7 separate regions of the Homo sapiens genome follow, and all the other regions are linked to region 5. The links are contacts of gene promoters, found by promoter capture Hi-C in blood cells and fetal thymus (Javierre and others, 2016). All regions are on one chromosome and are shown on one strand. Each heading gives the region's core, a stretch centred on a gene start or on the middle of the fragment in contact. The rest is flanking DNA. Distances are from core to core; before and after follow the strand shown.

What was found. The method cuts DNA at HindIII sites, captures the fragments that hold promoters and counts their contacts. A CHiCAGO score of 5 or more calls a contact.
Region 1: a fragment that was not itself captured here is called in contact with the fragment with the promoter of MXD3 in region 5 in 1 of 17 cell types (non-activated CD4 T cells); the score reaches 5.7 in non-activated CD4 T cells.
Region 2: a fragment that was not itself captured here is called in contact with the fragment with the promoter of MXD3 in region 5 in 2 of 17 cell types (megakaryocytes and fetal thymus); the score reaches 5.7 in megakaryocytes.
Region 3: a contact is called between the fragment with the promoter of N4BP3 here and the fragment with the promoter of MXD3 in region 5, in 2 of 17 cell types (naive B cells and total CD4 T cells). The highest score is 7.7, in naive B cells.
Region 4: a fragment that was not itself captured here is called in contact with the fragment with the promoter of MXD3 in region 5 in 6 of 17 cell types (total B cells, naive B cells, total CD8 T cells and 3 more); the score reaches 14.5 in total B cells.
Region 6: a contact is called between a fragment that was not itself captured here and the fragment with the promoter of MXD3 in region 5, in 1 of 17 cell types (monocytes). The highest score is 6.8, in monocytes.
Region 7: the fragment with the promoter of NHP2 here is called in contact with the fragment with the promoter of MXD3 in region 5 in 2 of 17 cell types (total B cells and total CD4 T cells); the score reaches 6.3 in total B cells.

The regions. Positions count from the first base shown.
Region 1 is chr5:178,192,981-178,195,680 of GRCh38, forward strand. No RefSeq gene overlaps it. Among named protein-coding and RNA genes, the nearest start is that of GMCL2, 7.0 kb to the left of the region's middle. The HindIII fragment of the contact is 1,489 bases long and covers 606-2,094 here.
Region 2 is chr5:176,643,039-176,645,738 of GRCh38, forward strand. It overlaps EIF4E1B (eukaryotic translation initiation factor 4E family member 1B), which reads left to right. Exons shown (of 9, transcript NM_001099408.2): 4 at 44-228; 5 at 601-696; 6 at 1,338-1,401; 7 at 2,092-2,205; 8 at 2,339-2,478. Among named protein-coding and RNA genes, the nearest start is that of TSPAN17, 3.1 kb to the right of the region's middle. RefSeq lists enhancers at 406-1,047, 1,048-1,687, 2,269-2,700. The HindIII fragment of the contact is 4,593 bases long and covers 1-2,700 here.
Region 3 is chr5:178,112,111-178,114,810 of GRCh38, forward strand. It overlaps N4BP3 (NEDD4 binding protein 3), which reads left to right and starts at 1,422. Exons shown (of 5, transcript NM_015111.2): 1 at 1,422-1,661. RefSeq lists silencers at 1,162-1,711, 1,792-2,111, 2,462-2,511 and enhancers at 2,550-2,700, 2,592-2,651. The HindIII fragment of the contact is 16,661 bases long and covers 1-2,700 here.
Region 4 is chr5:178,071,878-178,074,577 of GRCh38, forward strand. No RefSeq gene overlaps it. Among named protein-coding and RNA genes, the nearest start is that of N4BP3, 40 kb to the right of the region's middle. The HindIII fragment of the contact is 3,898 bases long and covers 1-2,700 here.
Region 5 is chr5:177,310,564-177,313,263 of GRCh38, forward strand. MXD3 (MAX dimerization protein 3) reads right to left here and starts at 1,335. Exons shown (of 6, transcript NM_031300.4): 1 at 1,198-1,335; 2 at 816-921; 3 at 105-134. The coding sequence starts at 1,267. RefSeq lists enhancers at 1-302, 560-759, 2,410-2,469 and silencers at 1,310-1,489, 1,620-2,189. The HindIII fragment of the contact is 10,591 bases long and covers 1-2,700 here.
Region 6 is chr5:176,530,414-176,533,113 of GRCh38, forward strand. It overlaps RNF44 (ring finger protein 44), which reads right to left. Exons shown (of 11, transcript NM_014901.5): 2 at 1,953-2,103; 3 at 1,591-1,780; 4 at 1,050-1,217; 5 at 435-608; 6 at 169-330. The coding sequence starts at 2,059. Among named protein-coding and RNA genes, the nearest start is that of RNF44, 5.6 kb to the right of the region's middle. The HindIII fragment of the contact is 9,510 bases long and covers 1-2,700 here.
Region 7 is chr5:178,152,524-178,155,223 of GRCh38, forward strand. NHP2 (NHP2 ribonucleoprotein) reads right to left here and starts at 1,362. Exons shown (of 4, transcript NM_017838.4): 1 at 1,135-1,362; 2 at 968-1,037. The coding sequence starts at 1,294. The HindIII fragment of the contact is 33,810 bases long and covers 1-2,700 here.

The sequences.
Region 1 (2,700 bases), core at 100-2,599, 880 kb after region 5:
GGCTGCATCTGGCAGCTTCTGGTGAGAGCTGTGTGCTGCACCAAAATGTGGCAGAGAAATGGAAGGCGGACCAGGCACCTGGAGGAAAGGGGGAAAACACGAGGGGCGACCTTGCTTGATGACAACCCAACTCTGAAGGTAACTGATCCAGACCCAAGAGAGTGAGAACTCACTTCTATGGGACTTGCATTAATATCCTGTCGTGAAGGCCCATCCCTCATGATCCAAACACCCCTGAAAGGTCCCCCCACGTCTCAATGCCGTTATATTGGCAATTAAATTTCAACATGAGTTTTGGTAGGGGCAAACCACATCCAAACCATAGCATCTTCTCACTGTTGAGTCACTTTTTAATGTGGCTATTAGAAAAATTTAAATGACATGTGTGTTTGCACTTGTGGCTGTTTTGCATCCGTATCTGGTATACAGTGCTGCTCTAGTAGTGAAGGTGGAGCGCCCCGAGTGAGATGACCCCGATTTGCCTCGGGGGGAAGTGGAAGGGCGTGGCCTGGTGTTCAGCAGTGGAGTGTGGGATCACGGAGGGACAGCTGGATCTCATTAAGGTGAAGTGGAGGGGCAGGGTTCACGGAGGCACACACTGAGGAAGCTTCTGCAGCAGTGAGTTGAGGGAGTGGTTAGGCTTTGTGGGTAGGGGACTGAGCTGTTTGAGGGTATCTGTAAGAGGCTGTGCAGCAAGGCAGGTGGCAAGAAGCAAGATGTTGGCTGGGCATGGTGGCACATGCCTGTAATCCCAGCACTTTGGGAGGCCAAGGCAGGAGGATTGCTTGAGGCTGGGAGTTTGAGACCAGCCTGATCAACATAGTGAGACCACGTCTCTATAAAAAATAAATCAATAAATAAAATTTAAAAAGCAAGATGTTGCCAAGCAGTTGGCCAAGTGGTGAGTATGAAAGAGAGAGACCCTGCCCTGAGGGCTTTCTGTCTCTCACCCACCTGGATCAGCACACAGCATGTATTTGTCTTCCACTCCAAGCCTACATCCTGGCCCCTGTTGGAGAAGGGCTCTGACCAGTTCACTGGCAGAATATGAAAATTGTATGTTAAGACATGCACGGCATGAAGCCCTAAGAAGCCAAGAATCCTTTCTTTTCACAGCAGGAGAAGGCCTCTGGCTGTTTCCCTGTGTTGACTGGAGGCTGAGTCTCTGTCCTCGACACCCCACCCGCTGCTGCCTCCTCTGCCCTGCCTGGGGAGCCCTGCCTTGCCTGGCCCTGTGCTGGGAACGGCCAGAGCTGGGGCTTCTTGCGTTTCCTGTTCACACCCGCAGAGCCAGCTTTGCCTTCCCCTCTGCTGTGCAGGGAGAAGGGAGGTGGGAGGTGCGGAGGGGATGGTCCTGTCTGTGGCTTCCTATTTCTTGGCTGGCAGGAGAAAGGCAGGCTTTCTGTGTCTATGTCTCTGTGGTCTTTCAGACTCAGCACTTGGGTAGGAAGATGAAAACCTCGGAGTGCCCCTTGTCTCTTTCCCTTGGGTCTGATTAGACCAAAGGCTGGTGTGGTGGAGGAGGTGAAAGGACCTGGCACGGGGAGGCTGGAAGCCCAGCGCTGCTCTGCTCACTTTCCCCTCTGCCAGCCTTTGTTACCAAAAGGTCTGGACTTGATCTTGGAAATGCATCATTTCTTGATCCTTCTCTAGCCTTTAGGGACAAATATACTAGAAGAAAATGGTCAAGACAATTGGTGCCACCAGCAGGAGGCATAGCAAGGAAGCAGGGGGTGAAAGGGTTTCTCCTTGAGAGAAGCAAGCCTCTGAGTCCAAGGCCCTCCACCAAGCGGCTCTGGTCCAGTGTTCCAGCCTTATTGCCCATCCTGCTCCATGTATGGAGTTGGGGGTTGTCACCACACACAAACACAACGTTCTGCCAACTCACCCTCCTCGATGTCTCTGTTCATCCCCTCCTTCCCATTTCCTCCACTGGACCACCGCCATAGCAGTATTCACTGACTTCCAGTTTCCTGCGGGATAAATCTGAACCCTTTGTCGTGGCACCCAAAGCCCTTGCCCAGCCGCGCTGTCCCAGCTCCTCTTCATCGTGTGGAGCAACTTGCAGTTCTCCAAGCAGCCTCTGCTTTCTCAAGCTTGGAACCTGAGCTGTGTCGTCTTCTCTGCCTGCACCCCTTCTTTTCCATCTCTGCTGGAGAACCCCTGCTTAGCCTCAGTAAAGATGTTTAAGGGACAGTTATGCATGAGGGTTTAGAGTTCACAGACCCAGTCTGTCCTGGAGGTCAAGGGCATGTTGCTGGCAATTGCAGCGTCAACAATTCAATTGAGTAAATACATGAGTGAATAGATGAATTGTTGTGGAATCAGAAACTGAGGCTCGGCCGGGCACGGTGGCTCACGCCTGTAGTCTCAGCACTTTGGGAGGCCGAGGCGGGCGAATCACGAGGTCAGGAGATTGAGACCATCCTGGCTAACACGGTGAAACCCCATCTCTACCAAAAAAAATACAAAAAGTTAGCTGGGCATGGTGGCGGGTGCCTGTAGTTCCAGCTACTCCGGAGGCTGAGGCAGGGGAATGGTGTGAACCCAGCAGGCGGAGCTTGCAGTGAGCCGAGATTGCACCACTGCACTCCAGCCTGGGCGACAGAGTGAGAGTCTGTCTCAAAAAAAAAAAAAAAAAAAAAGAAACTGAGGCTCAATCTGGGCACGGTGGCTCATGCCTATAATTCCAGCACTTTG
Region 2 (2,700 bases), core at 11-2,510, 670 kb before region 5:
GGCCAGAGCTCACAACCCATCCTGACTCCTTTTTTTGGCTCAGGTGAGTGAAGCTGAGGGTGGAATCCGAGAGTGGGAGGAGGAGGAGAAGGAGGAGGAGGCAGCAGAGAGGACGCCCACAGGAGAAAAGTCTCCAAACTCTCCCAGGACTTTGCTGTCTCTGAGAGGGAAGGCCCGGACGGGGGGCCCCATGGAAGTCAAGCTGGAGCTGCACCCCTTGCAGAACAGGTAGGCAGGAGCCTGCGAGTGGAACACAGCCCCTTGCTTTCAGGCCAGCCTCTGTGCTGGCAGCGTGGCCTTGGGCAACCCCGCCTCTCTTGGCCCTAGCTCTTCATCCGTGGGAGGCCAGGGCTGACCTAAGCCTTGGGCCCTGTTGGCCCTTCCAGCCCTAACCCCGCAGAGACTGTGGGTCAAACACCCCCACTCCTCCCCTGCCCTTCAGGACAACTGATTTCATTCACCTGAGAGGGGAATGCTGTGCCCCAAATCTCATCTCCCAGTTCGCCCTTGAAGGGGAGGGTCCTCCCTGTCAGTCCAGGTGCCCCGGGGGTGGACTTGGCTCTCTGCTTCCTCCTGGCTGCCTCCCCCTTCCCCTACCAGGTGGGCTCTGTGGTTCTTCAAGAATGACCGCAGCCGGGCCTGGCAGGACAACCTGCACCTGGTCACCAAGGTGGACACTGTGGAGGACTTCTGGGCGTGAGTGTCTGTCCCCAGTGGGGCTAGAGTTGGGGGGCTCTGAGCTCTGGGCTCCCTCTCTCCGGGTTGAGCCAGCCCTCCCTAGGGCCTTTCAGCCTTTGTGAGGGCTGGGGCTTTGTGGGTTCTGCCCAGGGGGTATAGGGCACAACCACCCCCCACCCCACCACCTTCTTTGGGCTCAGGGAGAGAGCCTGGGGAGCAGGAGAAGCAGGAAGCTGACCTTGACTCGGCCACTCCAGGGCTTTGTGACCTGGGCAAGTTCCTTCCCCTCTCTGAACCTGTCTCAGCTGCAAAGGGAGGACTCGGCTGCCTCAGTGTCCGGGTGCTCACGGGAGTGGCTCTGAAAAGGGCTACACAAGCCCTAGGGAGGGTGAGAAGGCCTCGGCTGTAGCTGGAGGGGGGAGCACCAGGGGGTCTAAAACCCTCCCCAGGGGTTGGCTCAGCCTTCACTGGGAAGGCTCTGTGGAAAAGGTGGGTCTTGAGAGTTTGGATAAACGGGAGTGGAATCCCAGGTGGCAGGCCAGTGTAAGCAAAGGCTTGGAGGCCATGGGGTCGGATGAGGAGTTGGGAGGGCTGAACCCAGTTGGAACCAGGCCCTAAAAAGCCTTGACTTTTGGCATGGGGTCGGGGGCTCTGTCCAGGCTATACAGTCACATCCAGCTGGCCAGCAAGCTCTCCTCTGGCTGTGACTACGCCCTCTTCAAGGTAAGCTCTGCTCTCCTCTTTCCCTCCCGCAAAGGGACAAGGGGTTGATCCCTCCCGGACTCCACTGCGTTAATCCCTCAGAGGGGTGGGGGTGGGGAGCTACGGGCCACCTCTCAGCAGAGTTGTGGTTTCTGACTGGAGGAAATGCTCTACAGGAGCCCGGACAGAGTAGGTCAGGCCCAAGCCGCACCTTGGAGGACCTTAAGAGGCGGGAAGAGGGAGAGGGAGAGATTTCTGACCTGGCTCCTTAACTAGGGAAGGGCATCAGAATTGCTTGAGGACACTCATTGATGCCACACCCATCCCTGGAGGGCTGACATTGTGTTTAGAGATCTCCCCAGTGACTTCTGCCCTGCCTGGGAACCATGCAGCCAAGCCTGGGATGTCCCCCTTGCCTGCATTGGGGTCTGCCCCTGAGGCTTCCTTAATCCACCCCGATTTGAATGCTTGTCTTAAGGAACTCAGTAAAAGAGACATGCACATATACAAGGCTATACAAGGTGACCAGTGCTGTCTGTCGGGGGGAGCTGAGTGGCTGGGGGTGGAACCTGCTTGCACTGAGGGAAGGGAGGATAAGAGAATCTGGCCTACTTAGGGCCTCAGCAGAGAGCGGATAAGGCCGGGATGGTGGGTGGGTCCCCATTTCCCTTTGAACACAGGGAGGCAGTTGACTTGCCATCTGCCTTGCAGGATGGCATCCAGCCCATGTGGGAGGACAGCAGGAATAAACGGGGTGGCCGCTGGCTGGTCAGCCTGGCCAAGCAGCAGCGCCACATTGAGCTGGACCGGCTGTGGCTGGAGACGGTGAGTTGGAGGAGGAGGGTCCTCAGGGGAAGAGACGGGCTGTGTGGGTCTCATGGTGGCAGTGGTCTCAAGGATGGCAGGCCAGTCCCTATGTCCCAGCCGGTGATCTCACAACCCCCTACTTCGGGTCCAGCTGCTGTGTCTGATCGGGGAGAGCTTTGAGGAACACAGCAGAGAGGTATGTGGGGCCGTCGTCAACATCCGCACCAAGGGGGACAAGATCGCTGTGTGGACGAGGGAGGCGGAAAACCAGGCGGGCGTGCTGCACGTTGGGTGAGGAGGGTCTCTGGCACAGGGTGGGGACTTGGGTCTCTGCTAGAGGGAAGGTGGGTGGAGGGGGCTTGGCCTGCATGGGAGACCTCTGAAAGTCTCCATAGCCTCCCTCCCTTCTGCCTTGCCCACCTGTATGGAAGGTCTGGCGTTCAGATTTCTAACTTTCTCTTACGGCAGTGCAGCTCTCCTTTTGCATTAAGGGGGTCATATTTTGGGTTTCCA
Region 3 (2,700 bases), core at 172-2,671, 800 kb after region 5:
TTTCTCTCTCCCCACAGCCTCTGGCTCTAATCTGCTTTCTGTTTGTCTGGATTTACTTATTATAAATGGCATCATTAACACATGTGGGCTTTGTGTCTGGTTTCTTTCACTTGCCATGTTTTGGAGGTTTATCCATGTTGTAGCAGGTATCATCAGTGTTTCATTCCTCTTTTTCTTTTCTTTTCTTTCTTTTTTTTTTTGAGACAGGCTTACGCCATCATCCAGGCTGGAGTGTAGTGGCACAATCTCCGTTCATTGCAACTCTGCCTCCTGGGTTCAAGCAATTCTCCTACCTTAGCCTCCCGAGTAGCTGGGATTACAGGCTCGCTCCACCATGCCTGGCTAATGTTTGGTGTTTTTGGTAGAGATAGAATTTCGCCATGTTGGCCAGGCTGGTCTCAAACTCCTGACCTCAAGTGAGCCGCCTGCCTCGGCCTCCCAAAATGCTAGGATTACAGGGGTGAGCCACCACATCAGGTCTTTTTTTTTTTAAGATAGAGATGGAGTTTTGTGAGTTGCCCAGGCTGTTCCTGAACTCCTGGCCTCCAAAAGTGCTGGGAGAGTTCAGACATGAGTCATCACATGGCGTTCATTTCTTTTTTATGGCTGAATAATATTCCACTGAATGGATCTACCATTGTTTGCTTACACCCTCATCAATTGTTAGTTTGGGCTGTTTCCACCTTTTGGCTCTTTGACTATTGTGACTAGTACTGCCAAGAACATTACTTGTTTGAGGACTATAATTGCCGGATCATATGGTAACTCTATGCTTAACTTTTGAATTAGAAACGGTGTTTTAATTTTTCGAATATGACTCCTTTACGTGTCTGTGTCTGTTTCCATGTCTTCCTACTGTCTTAGTAGGAAGCTCACGACTCATTTGCGTAATTTTTCTGGCCCCTGAAGGCACCTGATTTTGCTGCCCCTAGAATACTTTGGAGGCAAAAAGAAAATAACTCTGTGCCCAATTCAGCCAGAGTCGTGGGGTAAAATCTTTTCACTTCTCAAAGTACTACTGTGGTTCATCCCCAAAGGGGGGAAATCAGGTTTTCCGGAGAGGAGGCGGCTACAATTAGGGAGGTGAGGGACCTCACGCGCCTCTTCCTTAGAGGAGGCGGGCGAGGCGAACGGCGGAGGAGGAGAAGCGGGGGCGCTGTGCGCTCTCTGGGGCGTGGGCCGCGCTCGGGGCTGCCCACCCCTCGGGAACGAGCCGGGGCGCTCAAGGAGGCAGCGACGCGAGGCGCAGCCGGTCCAGGTTTCGCCCGCCACCGCCGTGCGGCGCCTCTGCGGGTCAGGGCCGGGGGCGCGGTCGGGGCCGGGCGGGGCCCAGGTTGGCTCGCGGGTAGGCGGCCCCGCCCCCCACATCCGGGGGCCGGGGCCGGGCTGTGGGCTTGCCGCGCGCCGGTGAGTCAGGCCGGGTTTTCCCTCCGCCTTTGGGGCAGGCGATCGAGCGCCGCGGAGCGCGTCCCTCCCTCGCCAATCCGGCTCCGGCGCCGGCGCCCGCCCGCGTTTTCCCGGCGCCTGCCGCTCCGCCGCTCCGACCCGGCACGCAGTCCCGGCCCGAGCCGACGCCTTGCAGGAGGGTTCAAATCCGCGCGGGGGAGCTGCGACGCGCAAGGGCTGCGGAGCCGCGGGCCGGCGAGCGCGTCGCCACCATGGTAAGTGGGGCGCGCGAGGGGCTGGGGACCCGGGCTGGACTCGGGGGGTGGGGAGGGGTGGGGCGGGTCGCCAAGGTCTTGTTTTCGGGCGTCCTTGGCAAAGCTGCTGTCCCGCTGGCCGAGGCTCCCGTCTGAGAGATGGGCGGGGGTGGCAAGGTGCGGCGTGCGCCCAGGTGTCCCCTGCTCCCGGTCACCGAGGCACCGGATCGGGGACCGACCCCGATGCTCCGCTGGAGGGGCAGGCGGCAGGCTACCTTGCTCTCCCCAACCCCTGCAAACGCGCTTTCCAGGGAGCAGCGCGCGGGACCCCTGCGCCACGGCTGGGTGGGGCAGGCGTCCTTGGCGCCGGCGTCTGACCTCGGCCTCCGCCCCCCGGCCCAGCCGCTCCCGGCAGGCCTCAGGGAGGGGCCAGGAGGAGACGCGCCTCCCACCCCGCCCCCCAGGTAGCTCCGGGACCTCCCGCAGCTTTGGGGAACCCTCGCCTTCACCCCTGCTTTCCTGACACAAATTCCGTGGGGATGCAACCTCGTTTGCCCCTCTGACTTCCCCATGAGATCTCTCGCTTCCTCCCACACCTCCTTTATCCCCCAACCCCCTGCCGGTCCACCAGGCTGCAGCTGCGGGTCTGCGGGTAGGGGACATTCCTAGGTCTTGACCGCCAGAGCACCCGGTCCAGTCCCGGCCACAGCCTTTGGCCCAAGTGAGGGCTGGCCTGGGGACAAGCCGAAATCAGGGCCCTGGCTGTATCCAGAAAGAGAACTGAGACCCGTTGCCTCCCACTGGGCCACCCCCCGACCCCAACCACATAGGAACAGATTGGGCCTGGCTGTCCTCGGGAGGGAGCGGACGCAGGAGGCCATCCTGGGCGCGGTTATCAGCCTCCTCCCAGGGCCCTCCCAGGCAGGGCTTCTCTACCGGCTGGCAGCGTGTGGTGTGCATGTGCCAGACTGTGAATGAATGCGGCCAGCCTGCCTCTGCCACCGCCTCTAGAGCTAGCATAGCGACTCGGAGTCCCCATGAGGCAGGTTTCCTCTATTTC
Region 4 (2,700 bases), core at 14-2,513, 760 kb after region 5:
CACTATACATTTAAATTGTTGCAAGAGATGTAATTTCCCAACTATTGTAATGATTGACATTTAAAATAAAAACTATTTCATTCATCTTTTAAATGGACCCAATGAAATCTAAGTATTGAAACAGTTTCTTACTACCACCAGATTTTTTTTTTTTTTTTTTTTTTTGAGACAGAGTCTCACTTTGTTGGCCAGGCTGGTGTGCAGTGGTGAGATCTTGGCTCACTGCAACCTCCATCTCCCAGGCTCAAGCAATTCTCCTGCCTCAGCCTCCCGAGTAGCTGGGATTACAGGTGCCCATCAACATGCCTGGCTAATTTTTGTATTTTTAGTAGAGATAGGGTTTCGCCATGTTGGCCAGACTGGTCTTGAACTCCTGACCTCAGATGATCCGCCCTACTCGGCCTCTCAAAGTGCTGGGATTACAGGTGTGAGCCACCATGCCTGGCCTCTTTTTATAACAGAAATAGAAAAGAAAATATTAAATATTTTATATCCAGGGTGACTTCCCACCTCCCCTTTTGTCTAGAAATGCATTCCTCTTGAGGGAATCCCCTAGGAGCAAAGCAAAGAAGGCTGTGGCTTATGTGTGTAATCCCAGCACTTTGGGAGGCCAAGGCAGGAGGATCACTGGAGCCCAGGAGTTTAAGCACCAATCTGGGCAACATAACAAGACCTCCTCTCTACAAAAAAAATAAAAAATAAAACTCAGGTGTGGTGGCAAGTGCCTATAGTCCCAGCTACTCAAGAGGTTGAGGTGAGGGGATACTTTGAGCCCAGGAGTTCGAGGTTACAACAAGCTATGATTACACCACTGCACTCCAGTCCAGGTGACCCTATCTCAAAAAATAAATATATAAAAATTTTAATTGTTTTTCATTTAAAGAAAATATTAAACATTTTAAAGATGAAATAAAAGGAAAATATATATATTCCATTATATGATTTGACGAAAGAGTTTGGCTCCGTTCTTGACTAACACACAGCATCTGAAATAAATCTCACAAAAATATCATCTGTGAGTTCCAGCCAACATGTCTGAAAACGCTGGTATTCCCAGAGAACAGGCCGGCTCCACGCAAGACTCAGCACCACCACCCTCTGCTGCTCCCGATGCTCTGAGGCTTGTCCTGCTAAGGACGCGTCCTAAGATGAGCGCTGAGAACAGGGACAGAAGCGCTTCCAAAGGGGCTGGTATTTTCTATGTAGCTCTCTTGGCTTTGCTCTTAGGGGATTCCCTCCAGAAAGATGCATTTCTAGACAAAAGAGGAGGTGTGAAATGCAAAGCAGTGAACTAAATTTAAATTGCCATCTTAGCCGGGCATGGTGATTTACGGCCGTAGTCCCAGCTACTTGGTAGGCCGAGGCAGGAGAATCGCTTGAGCCTAGGAGTTCAAGACCAGCCTGGGCAACATAGCAAGGTCCTGTCTCTACAAAAATAAACATAAAAATTAAAAAATTAGCCGGGCCTGGTGGTGCATGCCTGGAGTCCCAGTTGCTAGAGAGGCTAAAGTGGGACGATTGCTTGAGCCCGGGAGTCTGAGGCTGCAGTGAGCCATGATTGCTATTGTGCTGTATTCAGCCTGGGCAAGAGAGTGAGACCCTGTCTCAAAAAAAAAATTGCGTTGAATTCCCTAACCTCATTCCCATGCCCCTACCTTCAGAACTTCATCAAAGGGGGACAACCCCACACAGTGACATCTGGGGCAGGCATCATGGAGAAGAGAGACTGTCACCTCAGATGCTGTTCCAGCCTGGCCAACTTTAGGCAAGAAGACATATGGAAGTTGAGTCCTGGAAACTGATTCCCTAAAGCTCTGCCTGTCACTGGAATGTAAACATACCATCCAGTATCACTGCAATATTTTCTGGCACTACCCAAATTTTCAAGATACATCAGCTAAGAATCATAGATAAATCTTTTACAAAAATGTTTTAGGCCAGGCGCAGTGGCTTTCACCCGTAATCCCAACACTTTGGGAGGCTGAGGCGGTCGGATCACCTGAGGTCAGGAGTTCGAACCCAGCCTGGCCAACATGGCGAAACCCCGTCTCTACTCAAAATACAAAAATTAGCCAGGTGTTAAATTAGCTGGGCATGGTGGTGCATGCCTGTAGTTCCAGCTACTTGGGAGGCTGAGGCATGAGAATCGCTTGAACCTGGAAGGCAGAGGTTGCAGTGAGCCGAGATCATGCCACTGCACTCCAACCTCTGTGACAGAGTGAGACCCCGCCTCAAAAAAAATTTTTTTTTAATTCCATATATTAGTGATATGGAAGGGAAGTGCTGGGAAGGGAAGAGTGTGGTCCCTTTAAATGATACAGAAGAGGGGAAAGGAAGTGCTGGGTAGAGGAGTTCATGGTCCCTGGCTAGGACTCCACCCCCAGCCTGTGCCCACGGACCTAGGTAAGGACAGGCATTTTTGTTTTCCTGCCCAAATGTTGCATTTCCCAAGACCACCCTGGCCTGCCACACCCCTATCTTGTGCCTGGAAAAAACCCCAAGACTGTAGCCAGAAGACACACAGGAGGCTGGATGTGGAGAGGAACACACCGACAGGCATGCTGGCAGGCCATCGACTGGTAGAATGACGTAGCGTTTGGCTGGGGCAGTTGGAGGAGATCTCGGGCCACCGAGTGGCCCGACTCCAGGAGAAAACCATCTCCCTTCTGGCTCCCCCATCTGAGAGCTACTTCTACTCAA
Region 5 (2,700 bases), core at 85-2,584:
CAGTGCCAGCCCCACCTTGCCGGCCACAGGAATGGCAGGGGAGGGAAGGCCAGAGGGCAGTGGCCCCTGGGGGCTGGCGCTGTCAGGGCAGGACTGGGACTCACCTGCGCTTCTCCAGTTCATTGTGCACTGACCTGCCAATGCCAGAGAGGATGAGGTGAAGGGGAATCAGCTACTGCCCATGCCCCAATCCCAGGGCCCCCAGTGGCTCAAGAGCCACTACAGATGTCTGCCCCAAACAAGTCCCCTGTGGAGAGCTCATGCTGGCCTCAGACACCAGAGTCCCCTGGCAGGGCGAGGGGAGTCAAAGACACACGGAGCCAAATGCTTAACAGAAGCCTGCCCAGGTGGGTATGAGGGCCCTAACAAGGGCGCCTGCCAGCTGGCCAGAAAGGACCTCCCAGAGGTGACAGCTAACTGCGGAAACAGATGTTTCCCAAGCCGGTACTGGAGGGAGGGGCATTCAAATAGGAGGGAACAGCATATGCAAAGGGCTGGGGAGAGGAGAGAAGAGGAGGAAGCCAGCGGGGGAGGTGAGTGGCCTGATGTGTGGGGTGCGGGAGTGCGAGTGGAAGCGGGACCCCAACTGCTGTTGGCAGTTCCCGGCACATCTAGAGGTGCTCAAGAAATAGTCCTTGAATGAATAGAAAGGTGTGAGTGTGTTTGGAGAGTGGGGAGATGGCAGGAGGGGTCTGAACGCTTCCTGGAGCGGGACACCTGGCCCAAAAGATGCAAGCAACAAGTGGGCAGAGGAGGGCCCGACCAGGGGCGGCGCCCACCCCCACCCCCACTCCCGCCGCCCCCGGCCTCCTCACCGCCCGCTGTCCTGCGCGCCAGGAGCCTGGGGGGGTCGCTTCTTCCTCCTGTGGATGGGGCCTGGACTGCGATGCGGGCACAGGGACGCATAACCATGCTCGGCCTCTGCCAGAGAGAGTCCCCGCCCGCGTCAGGCTGGGGCTGGACCTGGTCCCAGCGGCAGCCCCAGGCACAGCACGGTCAAGGAAAGGCTTTTGGCGCCAGGACCATTTCCCCCACCCGTCCCTGCTCTACCGCCCCGGGACTCCTCTCGAGTTGAGGGCGAGGCGCCCCGGGATTACTGTCCTAGGGCGGTGCATCCTTCAAGCTGGGAGCCAGGTCCAGTCCAGGCCCGTGTCAGCGAGGTCGCCGCCCGGAATTCAGCCAAGGGTCCTTCCTCACCTCTCTCACGGCGCTCCAGGAACTCGGCCGCCTGCAGCAGGACCTGGATGTTGCTGGCCAAGGGTTCCATGTCGGCGACAGCTGGCGGCGGGCCGGCCTAGGGTGCCGGCCGGAGCAAGCGGCTGCAGCACTTTTGTTACAAAGTAACTGACACGGTGCAACAAACACAGGGGCCCGCCCCGCCCCCGGGACGCCCCGCCCGCGGGAACGCCCAGCCCTTGGCTCCGCCCCTCTGGAACCCGCCACGGAGCCGCAGCCCACCCTCCGGCAGCCGCCCCGCCCCGAGTGGTCTCAGACTTTCCAGGGGCAGGTAAGGGCGCTGGCTCCAGGCCTGGCCCTGGAGCGAACCCTCAGGCTAACCGGTGCTGCTTCTTGCCCGCCTCACTCATCCACCCACGCCGGCTCATTGGCGTCTTTGATCTCAGCTTCCAGCCCCGTGCTAGTGACTAGCCCCCAACATAGCACGGCGCTCTGGGGGCCTGGTGGTCCCCTGAAAGCGCCGGGCCCAGCCGCTGCACGTGGGTGCCGCGGGGGCGGGGCCTCCGGCCGCCGCTCGCCCATTCGCACATGGCTTCTCAAGGATCGCTGTTGTCATCCTCGGGGCGGGGTCGGGGAGCCTCTGATGCCCTATTGGCTGGCGCTCTGCCCCGCCCTCTCCCGCCGCTGATCCACACGTTCGGGCGGGAAAAGAAGCAGGTTTCAAATTTGAAAACCCAAGCGATGGGGCGGGGTTGAGAGGGGAGCTGGGCCTCAATGCGCAGGCGCCGGCGGAGGGGCGGCGGACCCGGCTCCTGCCCTCCGGGGTCTGTCCCCAAGCCTGCCTGCCATCTGCCCCCGAAGGCCCCCGTGGGCCCCAGCTTCCTACTGTGTCGAATGGGAATAATATCTCGGCCCCCCTCCTCTTCTGTGAGGAAGCTGTTGTTGCTACGAAAACGTCAGTGGGGTAACAGCTTCCTCAGGCAGGCCATACCCTGGAGGCACGCGAAATGGCCTTTTCCGGGGCCTTGGGCTCTGGTATCCACGCAGTTGGGGTCCTCTCCTGTCACTGATGTCTCAGCTGTGTATGACTCAGGAGGTGACCTCCGTCTCTAAGCCTCAGGAGCCCTGCGACAGCGTTGAAGGATCAGAGCCAATGCCTCTGCGGTGCCCATGGCATGAAGGAGCCGCCCATCTCAAAGGCCAGTGCAACCAGACCGCGGCGTTTGCCTCCCAGGCAGCCCCTGCTTGCCTTACTCAGAGTCCATAAACCCTTCTTGCACCTGACTCTCCTAGCCGGCCGAAGGAGTGGCTGTGATGACTTCTAGCCTCAGCACCAGCAGGTGGGGCCACATCTGGGGACAGGAAGATGAACGCAGCTGTAGCAGGGTGGAGCATTGCTGCCAGCCACGGGCTGAGTCTGTGACTCCAGTAATCCCAAAATAGAGAGGGGAGGGAAGGTGGGAGGGATAGATGCTCTGTAAAGAGACAGTCCTGGTAAACACAAGCACATGTCAGTCAGGCCTC
Region 6 (2,700 bases), core at 38-2,537, 780 kb before region 5:
GGTGCAAGTCAGCCCAGCAGGCCTGCCTCCCAGCCGCCCCGGAGCCCACGTGCAAGTCAGCCCGGTGGGCCTGCCTCCCAGCTGCCTGGGAGCCCAGATGCAGGTCGGCCCAGCGGGTCTGCCTCCCAGCTGCCCTGGAGCCCAGGTGGGGGTCGGGGTGGCACTCACCACACCAAAGGACAGCTCCTGGTGCAGCGGATCGTGGGGCAGGTAGTGCAGGGGCACCGACGGGGAAAGGGCTGGGCCAGGCGCAGAGGTGGAGTAGGTGAAGCTGCCCAGGGAGGGCTGGTCCCCACGCAGGTCCACGTCGTTGTCGAGCCGCTGGAGGGGCTGGAAGAACCAGCGCCGGGTCAGCAAGTCAGTGAGACGAGGCTGTCCTCACCCTGCCTCCCCCCACGCCATCTCCCTCCAGCATCGGACCCATGCCGACTCACCATCCGAGGGTGCTGGGTCTGCAGAGACACAAACTGCCCCAGGGGCGCCATGTGGGTGGGCTGGGGGGGTGGGGCCGGTGGTGGGGGGTGCAGGATGTAGTGGTCACTGGAGATGAGGTGGGGGTAGGCCTGATAGGGCACAGGCAGCTGCTGCATGGTGCACGCCTGGATAAGCTGCCAAGAGAGGGGGCAGGGGGCTGAGAACGTTCTCCTGGGCTCTGGGCCAGGTCTACGCCATGCCACCCAGCAAAAGGCCCCCACCGGGCACACACCCAGCAGCTCCAGGGTCTGTATAAGAAACCCTGTGGAAGGCCCATCCCTGTCCTAGGCCACCCAGGCAGGACACTCCACTGTTAAGGCCCACAGCCTCAACTCCTGGGCCTCTGCCAAGCTGTGAGGCAGGTACAGGGGTACTGGAAGGTTCCTGAACCTTGAAACACTCTATTACCAAATGTGAACACGCGTATGCTTTCCTGGGGAGGCCAGGCAGGCGCTCTGACAGCCTGGATGGCTGGATAGCTCAGCCCAGTTCAGGGCTGCCCTGGGCCCGCTGAGCCGCTGGCCTGTGCCTGGGGCTTGCAGCTGGTGGAGGAGGAGCTAGAAACACTCACTCACCGGGGGCGGGAGGCAGCAGAGGGGGTAATGCTGCCCACTGAACATCACGGAGCATGCTGGGAGCTGCTGGGCACTGCAGCCAGGGATGTGCTGGCCTGTAGGCAAGGGGAAGCCTTGGGTCGTCACTGTGGTGACCGTGTAGGACAGAGGGACAGGTCCCTGGTGCACCTGTGGGTGGAGAGAACGCCGGGAAAGTATGAAAAGGAAGCTGACCGCGAGGGCTACTCTCAGGAGAAATCATCCTGCCACATCCAGCTGCCGGCTCCCTTCCCTTCTCCACGGCGGCCTACCTCAGTGCAGACCAGACTGTGCCTCTACTCCCAGGCCCCCGGGGCAGAGAAAGCCCCGTGGGAATCTAGCTCTGCTAGTCACCCAGTGTGGCCCTTTCCCCGGGCCTCAGTTTACCTACCTGTAAAGCAGGGCCAATAATGCCTCCCTGGAACGTGAAATGAAGCAAGCTAGGTGAAATCTAGGCCTTGCTGCCTCTGCCTCTCAGACTGGCTCACAGGGCCAGGGGCACAGGGGATGGGGTTCTGCCTACCTGCTCGTGGAGATCAACCATGAACGGGCTCTGCTGGGTGGCTGGGTGCAGCATTCGGGGGCTCCCGCCGGCAGGAGCCGAGGCTCGGCGCTCCTCTACGGGGAGGTGTGGAGGTCGGGACGGCGGCTGCTGGGAGGGTAAGCGCTCATCCCGGGCAGGCGGGCTGGCCAGGGGGCCCTCGAGGCCAGGGCTGCACCACAGAGAGGAGGCCCCGATAGGACTGAGGGGGGCCACTCGTGCACAGAGCAGGGAGAGAAGCCAGGGTGACTCCCCCCATGGGGAGGGAAGGCAGCTCAGGGCCCTGCGCCCCACCCCTGCTGGCCCCCATGCCCCAGCACCAGGACTGGGAGGCTCCTTCCTACCTTCCCCAGAGCTGGCCCGGGGTGCTGCCAGGTCCCGCAGAGAATCGCCGCTGGCCCACGGGGGCGGAGGGTGGCCACCTAGTCACTGCCAGAGCCCATGGTCGCATCGGGGGGGCAGGGGGGTGGAGGGGCTGGGCCGGGACTCACAACCCTAGGAGGCAAGGAGACAAGAAGACTGAGGCACCTGGCCAACATGGTGAAACCTCGTCTCTGCTAAAAATACAAAAACTAGCCAGGCATGGTGGTGGACACCTGTAATCCCAGCTACTTGGGAGGCTGAGGCATGAGAATCGCTTGAACCCGGGAGGCGGAGGTTGCAGTGAGCTGAGCTGAGATCGCACCACTGCACTCTAGTCTGGTGACAGAGCGAGACTCCCGTCTCAAAAAAAAAAAAAAAAAAAGAAAGAAACTGAGGCACAGAGAAGTCCAGGCGCTTGTGCCATGAGGGGTCAGGAGACAGAACCAAACCTCTGCAGTGTGACCCCAGGGACCAATGGTGTTCAGCCGTGCCCCTCCTCCGAGCCCTGGGGTCCAGTGCTGACACGCCAGGACAGCTCAGCCTGCCAGCACCCAGGCCTCACCCTCCTGCTGTGTGAAATGGGACCCAGTCCCCCTCAGTTGCGGAGCTCAGCGAGCTGGCCAGCGTGCTTCCAAGCCAGTGGGTTCCTGGTAGGCTCCTGCTGGGCGGGGTCTCAGGGCACCCTGTCTTGGAAAGGGGCTTAGGGCCAGACCTTTCTCTGCCTTACAC
Region 7 (2,700 bases), core at 112-2,611, 840 kb after region 5:
TCACTTCTTGGGATAAAGCAAGGAGGCCCTGTTCTGAAGGAGCTTACCATCTGGCCTGAGAGGGTGATAAAGGGAAGAAAAATGTAAACAAGGTTCAAACTTTGATAAATGCCATTAAGAAAAGTGGGGTGATGAAGTTATCATTGCACTCTGTTATTTTCCTTCATGGCTATCTATCACAACGTGTAATTAGTTGTGTGTGTGTCATTATCTGATGAATGAATGTCACTGTTTCCCCCATAACACAGTGCCTGAAAAAGAGTACATTCAATTGTTAAGGCTGCCAGGCGCGGTGGCTCATGCCTGTAATCCCAACGCTTCGGGAGGCTGAGGCAGGAGGATTCCTTGAGCCCAGGAGTTCAAGACCAGCCCGGGCAACATGGCGAGACTCCTCTGTCTCTGCAAAACAACAATAACAACAGCCAGGCGTGGCGCAAGCCGGTGGTCTCAGCTATTCGGGAGGCTGAGGTGGGAGGATCGCTTGAGCCCAGGGGGACGAGGCTGCAGCGAGCTGTGATCGCACCACCGCACTCCAACCTGGGTGAGAGCTAGACCCATCTCAAAAACAAACAAAAACGTTAACGTTCAGTTCCTTAAATACAGAGCCGGAGAGGGGTCATCCCTAGGACTGAGATTCAGGGCTGAGAGGATTAGGGCGGGGGCCGGAGGTAATCTGAGGCAAGGAGCGGAGCCCGGGGAGGAGGGTCCCTGAATTAATGAAGGTGGGTTTACTCTAAGGGACTTTGCTTACACAATTCGCTTCACTTTGGAATTCACTTTGAGCTGGTATACGTGGTGTACCGGTATTGTCGTACCGGTATTGTACCAAAGGGACTTTACCGACTGCTTGATTGGCTTCTGTATATGGGGCTAGGTCAGAGTTAACCTTTTTACTGCGCGCCTACTAAGTAGAGATTTCTCCGTTAACGTTTAGAAATGCAAAATCCAGAGGAAGGAAGGTTCTTACCCTTTTTCTCCTTTGTTGACAAATTTCTGAACCTCTTTCACCCCGCGCCGAATCTGCTTCTGCTTCACCGCTGCAACGACAGAAGAGTCGGTCGGGGGCCTCGCTCAGCCACCCGCGCACCCATCCCACCCGCGCACCCATCCCGGCCACGCCGCCGTCCGCCTCACCTTTCTTGATGCATTTGTAGAGCTTCCGCGTGAGGCGGCGAGAAGCCAGGGGCTGCGCGATGGGGTTCTGGTTGACCAGCAGCTCCTGGTAGGTGCGCTCCCCGGAACACGCCTCCGCCTGAGCCTCGGGCCCGTCGGGATCTGCCTTTATTTTGGTCATCGCAGCGGCCGCTGAAACCTAGTCCCAGGGAGGCGAGCCCACGCGGTCCACAGCTTTAGGCATCACTTCCAGGTCATCAGCTGCGCGAGAAGCCGCCGTACAACACGGCCAATCAGGAAAGGAAGTCTCCGACTCAGCCCAATCGTTGACGCCCAGCTTCGTAACTACGGAGAGCGGAGAGGGGCGGAGTCATGGTCCTTAAGGCGGGGCCATCCCCGGACCAAGGGACTGGGCGGAACCGATTAGGGCGGAGCGGAGGGAATGTGAGGCAAGGGGCGGAGCCCTGGGAATCGGGGCCGGAGAGGGCGGGGCTCTGGGTGCTGGAAAGGCTGCCTCGTTTTTTTTCTTTTTTGAGGCAGAGTTTCGCTCTTATTGCCCAGGCTGGGGTACAGTGGCGCAATCTCGACTCACTGCAACCTCCGCCTCCCGGGTTCAAGCGATTCTCCTACTTCAGCCTCCCGAGTAGCTGGGATTGCAGGCATGCGCCACCACGCCCAGATAATTTTGTATTTTTACTAGAGACAGGGGTTCTCCATGTTGGTCAGGCTGGTCTTGAACTCCTGACCTCAGGCGATCCGCCCGCCTCGGCCTCCCAAAGTGCTGGGATTACAGGCGTGAGCCACCGCGCCCGGCCTAAGGCTGCCTCCTTTCTTGCATAATTTTTCTTTGTTTTCTGACCCCTGGACCCGGCTGCGCAGGTGTGAAAGATACAGAGCAAGGGATGACCCCACTGACCTGCGTCTGCACCGCTTTTCCACAGATAGCGTGTGGCTCACTCTCATCCCGCAGGGTTCCGTTTCAGTGTTTCCCATGGGAGAGGTTTCCCTGGTGATTTTATCTAAAATTGCCGTCCCCTCTCTCTCCAAACCAGCATCCCTTCACCCGCTATTTTCCCGCAGTTCTTACCATTGCCTGACGCTACACATGCAGAGGGCCTAGCCGAGAAGCCAGCCGGGGCTGAGGGAAGGACGGCTCCAGCGAAGCCGGGAACAGCGGAGGGAAGGCTTTGGGGACTGAGCTCCCTGCCGTGCAGGGTGAGAGCTATGAGGAGCTACCCTTTGGACGGGTCTGTAGAAGGTAAAGGGACAGAGCTGCCAGGGCGTGGGGGGCGGTGGCAGGCCGAGATCCAGTGGATCTTGGTATCTCTGATTAGCCTCTTCCACTATATTTTGGAACTCTGGATGGATATTAATTAGATAATCGCTGCAAATTACTAATTTGTAATACTAATTACCTTTGATCCTGATGTGGCAGGCCTGCCATTTTTGTGTTGCTGGAACAGGCCAGTAAGTAGAAACTTAGAAGTGTTCCGGTAGTTGTGGGTGGGAACACAGGTCAGTTAAACCAACTTAAAAATTGGCCTTTCCCGGGTGTGGTGACTCGTGCCTGTGGTTCCAGCTACCCGG